2 separate regions of the Homo sapiens genome follow, and region 1 is linked to region 2. Evidence: promoter capture Hi-C in human tissues and cell types (Jung and others, 2019). All regions are on one chromosome and are shown on one strand. Each heading gives the region's core, a stretch centred on a gene start or on the middle of the fragment in contact. The rest is flanking DNA. Distances are from core to core; before and after follow the strand shown.

What was found. The method cuts DNA at HindIII sites, captures the fragments that hold promoters and counts their contacts. A contact is called where the count stands out against the background at its distance.
Region 1: a fragment that was not itself captured here is called in contact with the fragment with the promoter of NUDT13 in region 2 in 1 of the 25 tissues and cell types used here (adrenal gland).

What each region holds. Positions count from the first base shown.
Region 1 is chr10:73,063,961-73,069,204 of GRCh38, reverse strand. P4HA1 (prolyl 4-hydroxylase subunit alpha 1) reads left to right here. Exons shown (of 15, transcript NM_001017962.3): 5 at 222-359. Among named protein-coding and RNA genes, the nearest start is that of P4HA1, 30 kb to the left of the region's middle. The HindIII fragment of the contact is 5,132 bases long and covers 626-5,244 here.
Region 2 is chr10:73,107,123-73,112,348 of GRCh38, reverse strand. NUDT13 (nudix hydrolase 13) reads right to left here and starts at 1,894. Exons shown (of 9, transcript NM_015901.6): 1 at 1,782-1,894. RefSeq lists a silencer at 4,922-5,162. The HindIII fragment of the contact is 13,958 bases long and covers 1-3,114 here.

The sequences.
Region 1 (5,244 bases), core at 1,942-4,441, 44 kb after region 2:
GTCACAGTCCTTAAGCAACACTAGGCTTTTGGAAGATTGAACAAGTTAGAAGTATGCCAAGTCTTATTCAGTGTATTTAATTTTTTCTTGTTGAGTATGTAGAACTTTTCATGGTGTGGTAGAAAATAATAAAATAGATTTTGAACAATCCTTATTAAGTCTCTTTATGGGAAGTTTATGAGGTTCTACAGTTTTTTTTTCTTTGATTTATCTATTTCAAGGCTTTATCTCTAACCTAACCATTCAGAGACAGTACTTTCCTAATGATGAAGATCAGGTTGGGGCAGCCAAAGCTCTGTTACGTCTCCAGGATACCTACAATTTGGATACAGATACCATCTCAAAGGGTAATCTTCCAGGTAAGATCATTCTTCCATTCTATAAAATACCTATCACCTAGCTTCTCTGTTGAGTCCATTAACACAATGTTAGTATAAAAAAGACTTGCATTTTAAGATTTTAAATTGTAGTTTGTTTCATAGCCTTCGAAGACTAAAGAATCACCTTCCCTTTCTCTTAGGGCTTAATAGTTACGGGTATGCTTCTAGCTTCTAGCTTGTTACTCTGAAAGCTTGTATTGATAGAGACTAACTTAAGTAGGGAATTTTAGTGTGTAAGGAAAAGAAACTATCATTTCACCAAATGTTTTTATTCAGAACACCTAATACTATTTGAAAGCTTTGTATGTAAAGCTATAAGGGATTGATAGTCAAAGTTTATATGTTAAATAATTAAAAGCCAAGATGTTTTGGGTATCCACATATGTTTAAAGTGTTCCATAGTATGGAACATCCTACTTTCTGACCTATTTTTGGCAAAGTCCTCTTTTTAAGTTACAGTTGCTTTCATGATAATTTACTTTTGCCGTCCCTCACTTTTTCAAAGTTTGTGACTCATTACCACTACTATCTCCTGTTATTGTCAGCTGCAGAAATAAAATATGTTGTCTGTGTCTTCACATTGAAATTGATTTTCTCCGTAAGAAAAAATCACTGGGATGAGTTGTTAATCAAAATGTTTTCTTGCTCATCTCCCTTTATTTGAGGTGAAGGTATCCGTTGGTAAAAACTAAACATGGTATAATAGTAAATAAAATTTCTGTTAAGCTGGAATATAATTCCATTAATTTGAACTTCCAAAAATGTACAAATTTGCAAATTTTCAGTTTCTACTAATATTATACATTATAACGCTTTTGATAAGATTATAACCTTATTTTTAAAATTGGTTTCAGGTTTTCATAGATATTAAATACTTAATATGTGCCAGCTATTATGTTAGGTACTGGGGACACATAATGAACAAGACATACACTACCCTCGCCATTAGGGTATTTAACATTCTTACAGTATAGTAAGATGAGTGCTTGGATGGGAGAAATTCAGGATACCATATGAGCACATCAAAAGAAACCTATTGCTGGACCTCATAAGGGATGTAAAGGAAGAATTCCTGGAAGATACACATTAAAAAAATTGAGATCTAATGGACCAGGAATTAGCCAGAAAAATGGGGGAGAGGGAGACAGGAGTGGGTGTGGGAAAAGTGTTTCAGACAGAGGGAACATGTAGAAAGGTCAAAAGGAGAGAGCATATCATATTCAGATAACTAACATGTAGTTTGTATGGCTTAATGTAGAGTTCAAGAGGTGAACGCACCAGGTGGATATGGGGGTTTGGCTTTGTGAGAGTAGTGAGAGCTGAGACTAGAGAGGTAAGCAGAAGCCATCTCTTGGAGAGCTTTGTAAGCCATGTGGAAGAGATTGAACTGTCCTGAGTGCAGTGCGGAGCTATTAAAAAGTTTGTAAGGGAAATTTATGATTTTTCCTTTTAGAAAACCATTCTGGCTGCCGAATGGAGATTGGGTTGGGGCCAAGGGACGAAGAACCAGGGAGGAGGCTGTTGCAAATATTTAAGTAAGAGGTGGTAGTGGATAGATTATCAAGCTACTTATTAGAGTAGAATAGTAGAATTTGATGATGTACTTGATAGGAATTTCTGGCTTCATCAACTGGATAGATTCCATTTAACAAAATAGGGCTGGCATGGTGGCTCATGCCTGTAATCCCAGCACTTTGGGAGGCTAAGGTGGAAAGGATCCCTTGAGGGTAGGAGTTCAAGACCAGCCTGGGCAGCATAGCAATTCCCTGACTCTACAAAAAAATGAAAACTTAGCTGGGTGTTGTGGTGCTTGCTTGTAGTCCTAGCTATTTGGGAGGCTGAGGTGGGATGTATTCACACTGCTATGAAGAAATACCCAAGACTGGGTAAGTTATTTTAAAAAAGAGGTTTAATTGACTCACAGTTCCGCATGGCTACGGATGTCTTAGGAAACTCACAATCATGGCAGAAGGCACTTCTTCACAGGGTGGCAGGAAAGAGAATGAGGGCCAGCAGGGGAAATGCCAGGTGCTTATAAAACCATCCTATCTCATGAGAACTCACTGTCACAAGAACAGCATGGGGGAACTGCCCCCATGATGCAGTTATCTCCACCTTGTCCCGCCCTTGATAGGTGGGGATTATTAAAATTCAAGGTGATATTTGGGTGTGAACACAGAGCCAAACCATATCACGGGAGGATCACTTGAGCCCAGGAGTTCAAGGCTGCAGTGAGCTGTGATCACGCCACTACACTCCAACCTGGGCAACAGAGTGAGACCCCTATCTCAAAAAACAAAAAGCAAAAAAGAAAACATCCCACCTCAGCCTCCCAAATGTGTGGTGGTGGGTAATAAATGTTATTTAGATTACTATATGTGTTTTGTTTAAAAAATGATTATATTCCCATCAAAATGGTCCTGAATATTATTTAACCCTGATTTCACTGTGTTTAGTCTTAGGGGCAATATTCATTCTTTCTCAGGTGCTTTTTATCTCCTTGTTGACTTTTTTCCTCTTTTATCACAGTTTTGGGCTAGTTCTTATTGACTTTTCTTTCAGGCAAATTCCTTATAAGTAGAATAACTGAAATTTCCTAATCACATTATACCCTATAAGTGGTAAAAATAATAGCATGAATACTAGCATAAGAGTTTTTAGGCTCCCCCAACCCAGATTATTTTCTGTTGTTAATAGTCAAATATCACAAATGTGTTCGAAGGCTTCTTGTGCACCTTCCCTTGTTTAGAGGTAATGACTATTCTGAACTTGGTGCGTATCCTGTCATCTTTTTATACTTTATCATATATATTTTCCATTGTATTGTGTTTTTAAATTTTATGTCAATAGTACATCATACTCTATGTATCTTTCTACAACCTTTTTTTAACCTAATATTTTCAGTAAATTTATCTGTGTTGATCAGATTCATCTAACTGCTAATGTGGTATTGTATAACATTATTTATTCATTCTTCTGTGGATGGATGTACATTTAGATTTTGTCCAATTTTTTGCTTTATCAAATGAAGTTTGATACATCTTTGTTGATTTCTTTTTGTGGCCATGTACTCACGTGCAAGGCTTTCTCTTAGGGTATAAGAAATCATAGGGTATTTGGTTTTTCATCATACTTACCAGATGTGGCCAGATTGCTTTCCAGAGCATGTATTTATACTGTCACCAGCATTGTATGAGAGTTCCCATTTCTTCATATCCTTGCCAGCTCTTGGTTTTGTCAGACTTTAAAAATTTTAGCAATCTGGGTGTGAAATGGTGGGGGTGAGGGAGGAAGGATGCATGTATTTTAAATTTTCTTCAAACAAAAAAGTCAGAGAAATGCTTAGTGAATTTATATTGATGCCACATCACTCCTTGATTAGTTTCATCTGTTTCTTTTGCCTCTTTGGGCCTATCTTTTGAAATGCTTTGTTGGTATTTTAATGAAAAATCTGATAGGTTACATGCATTTTGACATCAGTGTTGTCCTTATAGTTCTTAAGGACTTCCTTCAGTTTTCAGATTGTTTGTTCCCAACCCTGATTTGTTGAATAGATCCATATCTGCCAAAGATATCATGCTTTTTTTTAAGCTGTGATTTTTTTTAGGGGGTGGGGGTCAGTAATAGAAAATGTCATATGTACAAAATTCAATTTGCTTCATGTGGAAGTTGAATGTTCACCCTTCTGGTCACTTGCATCACTGTCTTGGTAAGTTAATAAGGTAACTATAGCAAACAGTAGATTCTCCAGACATCTCTGGAGCTCACTCAGCTATCAGTGTACCACACTGCCTCAGAGGTGGGACATTAACTTCTAAGTGTGTGCATTTTAAACATAATTATCCCTTACAAATTAAGTTTTGATCCATTAAGTGTTCTTGTGAAGTGCAAGAATTTTTGGATTACGTGTCTCTCTCAGTTTAACGGATGATGTCTCTCTCAGTTTAACGGATGAACCATAAAAATCGATTTCTTTTTCTTTTTTGACATGGAGTCTCACTCTGTTACCCAGGCTGGAGTGCAGTGGCGCAGCTCGGCTCACTGCAACCTCTGCCTCCTGGGTTCAAGCGATTCTCTTGCCTCAGCCTCCCAAGTAGCTGGGATTACAGGTGCCCACCACCATGTCCAGCTAATTTTGTTATTTTTAGTAGAGATGAGGTTTCACCGTGTCAGCCAGGCTGGTTTTCAGCTCTTGACCTCAAGTGTTCCGTCCACCTCAGCCTCCCGAACTGCTGGAATTAAAGGCATGAGCCACTATGTCTAGCTAAAAATGTATTTCTAAATAATGTTTTTCCTATAGTGCCTATGATATTATAGTTTATTTTCTTTATTTTCTTTATTTTTTTGAGACAGGATCTCACTCTGCTATCAACCCAGGCTGGAGTGCAGTGGCACAATCACAGCTCACTACAGCCTCAACCTCCCAAGCTAAGGTGATCCTCCTACCTCAGTCTCCCAAGTAGCCAGGACTACAGGCATGTGCCACCACAAGCAGCTAATTTTTGTATTTTTTGTAGAGACAGGGTTTTGCCATGTTATCCAGGCTGGTTTCGAACTCCTGAGCTCAAGCAATCCACCCCCCCGCACCCCGCAGCCTCCCAAAGTGGTGGGGTTACAGGCAAGAGCCACTGTACCTGGCCTGATATTATAGTTTCTATTGTGACAATAAATTAAAAGACTCTTTAGTGTTAGTTTACTTTCAATTTGGTTTATTATATTCAATTTGGTATGTTCATGTCAGTCATCCATGCCTCTTCCTTTGAACCAAAGGAATTTACAACTTATTCTTGTTTCTCATCAAACTCGGTTTGCTTTTTATATGAAGCTTTTTACAGTCTTTTTCTGCCCATACCACTTTCCTTAT
Region 2 (5,226 bases), core at 645-3,144:
GGAGTTTCGCTCTTGTTGCCCGGGCTGGAGTGCAATGGCGCAATCTCGGCTCACCGCAACCTCCACCTCCCGGGTTCAAGCGATTCTCCTGCCTCAGCCTCTCGAGTAGTTGGGATTACAGGCATACGCCACCACGCCTAGCTAATTTTGTATTTTTTTTAGTAGAGATGGGGTTTCTCCATGTTGGTCAGGCTGGTCTCGAACTCCTGTTCTCAGGTGATCTGCCTGCCTGGGTCTCCCAAAGTGCTGGGATTACAGGCAAGAGCCACTGCCCCCGGCCTTATTTATATTTTTCAAATGACTAGAAGTATACATACCAAACTATTAAAGAGTGACTAATTTGGGGGAGTGGGATGAAGACAAATATTGAAAAAGGTGCCTGTAATTTTTATTTTGTTCATTTTTCTGTACTGAAAAAAAAATTAGCCATGTGTACTTATTCCTTTTAAGACAAAAGAAAAGCCTAATAAAATAGTAGTTCCTGAGACTAACTGGTTAATGAGGCTACCTCCATGCCACTGTTCCCCAAAACACCTCACCATATTCCATGAGCCAAAGGGAATTCATTTGGTGAGTTTCTTGGACCTTGGGAACTGCTGCCTGATGTTTTGCCTAGTTTCTGCTACTAAATTAACCTTAGCCAGTTGTAGATTATCATGGCTGCTGACTCATGAGCTGATGGTCACAGAGCTATTTATGTTTTTAAAAGTACAATGTTTGATAGAGATGAAAGGTAATAGCAGTCTTACCCAACTACTAAATGATGAGGCAAGGTGCTTTAACATTAAGAGTTTCTTTGAACTCCCCAACACAAATGATTCACACGTTTCTTATCCTGTTCATCTTTCCAGAAGAAAGATTATAAAGTACTACAGCGTGACAAAAAAGCCCATCTTGTAGTGAGCCGAGATCGCGCCACTGCACTCCAGCCTGGGCGACAGAGCGAGACTCCGTCTCAAAACAAAAAAACAAAACAAAACAAGACAAAACAAAAAAAGCCCATCTTGAATCTAGTGGTTACTTCCACCGTGAAGAGGCCAGGTTCCCTAGTATTTAAGAGACCTTTTTTTAGGCCGGGCGCGGTGGCTCACGTCTGTAATCCCAGCACTTTGGGAGGCCGAGGTGGGCGGATCACGAGGTCAGGAGATCGAGACCATCCTGGCTAACACGGTGAAACCCCGTCTCTGTTAAAAATACAAAAAAAAGTGGCTGGGCGTGGTGGCGGGCGCCTGTAGTCCCAGCTACTAGGGAGTATGAGGCAGGAGAATGGCATGAACCCAGGAGGCGGAGCTTGCAGTGAGTGGAGATCGTGTCACTGCACTCCAGCCTGGGCGACCAAGTGATACTTCGCCTGTGTTTAGAGTCCGTTTCTCCACGACTGTGGACCTCCATGGGACAGGGAAATATGGAAAACTGAGGAACCACGGGAATACAGCTTTGAAGGTCTCACTGACCTGCTTTATAGTTTGCTTTCTAAAAAATAATTTTCCCTCCTTTAAAAAAAAATAAAAATTAAGGCACAATGTGAGAGGTTGGCAAGTTCCATTTTTAAATGACTCTCCAAAAAAGTATCAGAAAATGATGAGCTGTGGTTACTGATGTAGCTCCACAGTTATGAGGCAAAACTATGGTTATATCCCTGGTTTCTGCAAAAAGGAAGAGATTAAGCTAAAATGTTAAAATGCTGTGACCACGACCTTTTTTCAAGTTCTGATCATGCCTCCCTGTGAAGTCCTTCCTGCACTTAGAAGCTGAGCAGGTTTCTGTTTCACTGTACTCACTCTGAATTCTTTTCGGGGCACCTTCCTAGTCCTCAGGAATCAGCACAAAAGAGGAAACTCCAAATGTTCACGTTCAACGGCTTCCGTTCCCTGGAGGGACCATTGCTGCTTCTGCCACACTTCCCAGAATCCTCCTAGAGATGCACTCTGGGAATTGTAGTTCAGTTCCCAGGCATGCTGCTGTGTTCTCCAGCTGCAAGTTAACCATGATTGTCAAAAGCATGAACATCTAAGATCTTATTACCAAGAGAACTACTGTATCCTTGGAGAAAGTAGGTTAGTATTAGATCCATTTTTTAATTAAAAAAAGATAAAGTCATTAAGTCCACCCTCATACACAGAAGGCATATATTATGAGGCTGGGGAGAGGATGAAGCAGGGGTGGGAATCAAATACCTTTTAACCTTAGTATATCTCTAGTTCTCTCTCTGCACACTTTAGAACTAGCTCTAAAATTTCATGAAGTTCTTCCAATTTAAAAGGATGGGACTCTGTATAGGTATGTATAGATATGTTTGAACTTATGGTAGGATTCATTTCTTGATCAGAGGAAGCGCATTCCATTTGACTGGAAGTAGTCTCCTAGAAGTGTGTCCGGAGTTGGTTCCTTCCAGTGGGTTCTTGGTCTTGCTGACTTCAAGAATGAAGCCGTGGAGCTTTCGGTGAGTGTTATAGCTCTTAAAGGTGGCACGAACCCAAAGAGTGAGCAGCAGCAAGATTTATTGTGAAGAGCGAGAGAACAAAGCTTCCACAGCGTGGAAGGGGACCCGAGTAGGTTGCCGCTGCTGTTGGGGGTGCCAGCTTTTATTCCCTTATTTGTCCCTGCCCACATCCTGCTGAATGGTCCATTTTACAGAGCACTGATTGGTCCATTTTATGGAGTGCTGATTGGTCCATTTGACAGAGTGCTGATTTGTGCATTTACAATCCTTTAGCTAGACACAGAGTGCTGATTGGTGCGTTTTTACAGAGTGCTGATTGGTGCGTTTACAATCCTTTAGCTAGACACAGTGCTGATTGGTGCATTTACAATCCTTTAGCTAGACACAGAGTGCTGATTGGTGTGTTTACAATCCTTTAGCTAGACACAGAGCACTGATTGGTGCATTTTTACAGAGTGCTGATTGGTGTGTTTACAATCCTTTAGCTGGAAACAGAGTGCTGATTGGTGCGTTTACAATCCTTTACCTAGACACAGAGCGCTGATTGGTGCATTTTTACAGAGTGCTGATTGGTGTGTTTACAATCCTTTAGCTGGACACAGAGTGCTGATTGGTGCATTTTTACAGTGTGCTGATTGGTGCATTTACAATTCTCTAACTAGACAGAAAAGTTCACCAAGTCCCCACTCCACCCAGGAAGTCCAGCTGGCTTCACCTCTCAGCAGAGCTACTTTGGTGCTGCTCTCTTCTCGTTTTACTACTGAAGTTACTTGCCTATGAGAGAAGACACTTTTTTTTTTTTTGAGATGGAGTTGCTCTGTCGCTCAGGTTGGAGAGCAGTGGTACGTACAATCTTGGCTTACTGAAACCTCCTCCTCCGGAGTCAAGTGATTCTCCTGCTTCAGCCTCCCGAGCAGCTGGGATAACAGGTGCACACCACCATGCCTGGCTAATTTTTGTATTTTTAGTAAAGCCAGGGTTTCGCCATGTTGACCAGGCTGTCTTAAACTTCTGACCTCAAGTGATCCACTCGCCTCAGCCTTCCAAAGTGCTGGGATTACAGGCGTGAGCCACCGCACCCAGCCAAGAGAAGAAGTCCACTCATTCAACATGTATTTAATGAGTACCCAATGTGCCTAGGACTGTTATAGGGATAGGATACAGCAGGGAACAAAACATGAAAATCTCTGTCCTCATGTAACTTACATTCTAGAAGGGGAAACAAACGAGTAAATATACAATGTGTCGTGGTTATAAAGCTTAAGAAGAAAAATAAAGCAAGATAAGTAGAGGGATTATTTTGCTATTTTATATAGGATGGTCAGCCTCATTGTTAAGATAATATTTAAACAAAGACCCTGAAGAAGGTGATGAAGAAACCAAATTTATATCTATGGAAAGAGATTTGTAGACAGAGCAAAATAAGCATATGCAAAGGCCCTGGGGTGGGAGTGTGCCGTTTGAGGAAAGGCTAGGAAAGAGCATGGTGATCAGAGATGAGATCAGAGTAGGCCGGGCATGGTGGCTCATGCCTGTAATCCCAGCACTTTGGGAGCCCGAGGTGGGCACATCATTTGAGGTCAGGAGTTTTAGACCAGCCTGGCCAACATGGTGAAACCCTACTAAAAATACAAAATTAAGCCAGGTCTGGTGTCACATACCTGTAGTCCCAGCTACTTGGGAGGCTAAGGCACAAGAATCGCTTGAACCCGAGAGGCAGAGGTTGCAGTGAGCTGAGATTGCGCCACTGCACTCCAGCCTGGGTGACAGAGCGAGACATTGTCTGAAAAAAAAAAAAAAAAAATCAGATTGGTTCATTATCCTTAAGGAAGACACAGAAAATTGTAGGGAAACAAGATATAAAGTCAATGGATTCTAAGGATGCTTAGGGGGAAATTGGGGCTCTAATAATTTAAAAAGTCAAAATAACTTTTTGTAGTAATTGTTAAGTGCTATAATAATAAAAATAGCTCAGACTGAGCATTTGCTGTGTTCCAGGCACTATGCTAAGTGTCCCACATATTTGTCATTAATCCTCACATCCTATGAAATCTGTATTAAAATTTGTACTTTAGGCTACGTGTGGTGGCACACGCCTGTAATCCCAGCACTTTGGGGACTGAGGTGGGAAGATTGCTTGAGTTCAGGAGTTCAAGAAACCAGCCTGAGCAACATGACAAAACACCATCTCTACAAAAAATACGAAAATTAGCTGGGCATGGTGGCATGCACCTGCGGTCCCAGCTACTCAGGAGGCTGAGATAGGAGGACTGCTTGAGCCCAGGAGTGAGCCGAGATCATGATGCTGCACTCCATCCAGCTTGGTGACAGAGACACCCTGTCTAAAAAAAAAAAAATTGCACGTTACAGATGAGAAAACATAGGCTTAGAAAAATTAAGTAGGGGAGGCGCGGTGGCTCACACCTGTAATCCCAGCACTTTGGGAGGCCAAGGCGGGTGGATCACAAGGTCAGGAGTTTGAGACCAGCCTGGCCAATATCGTGAAACCCCGTCTCTACTAAAAATACAAAAATGAGCCAAGTGTGGTGGCGTGCTCTTGTAGCCCCAGCTACTCGGGAGGCTGAGACAAGAGAATCGCTTGAACCCAGGAGGTGGAGGTTGCAGTGAGCCAAGATTGAGCGACTACATTCCAGCCTGGGCAACAGAGTGAAACTCCATCTCAAAAAAAAAAAAAAGAAAAGTAATTTGTCCATATTTACACAGCTAATCAGTAGAAGTGTTGGGATATTAAACTAAATCTGTCTTAAGAAAGAATCTGTACT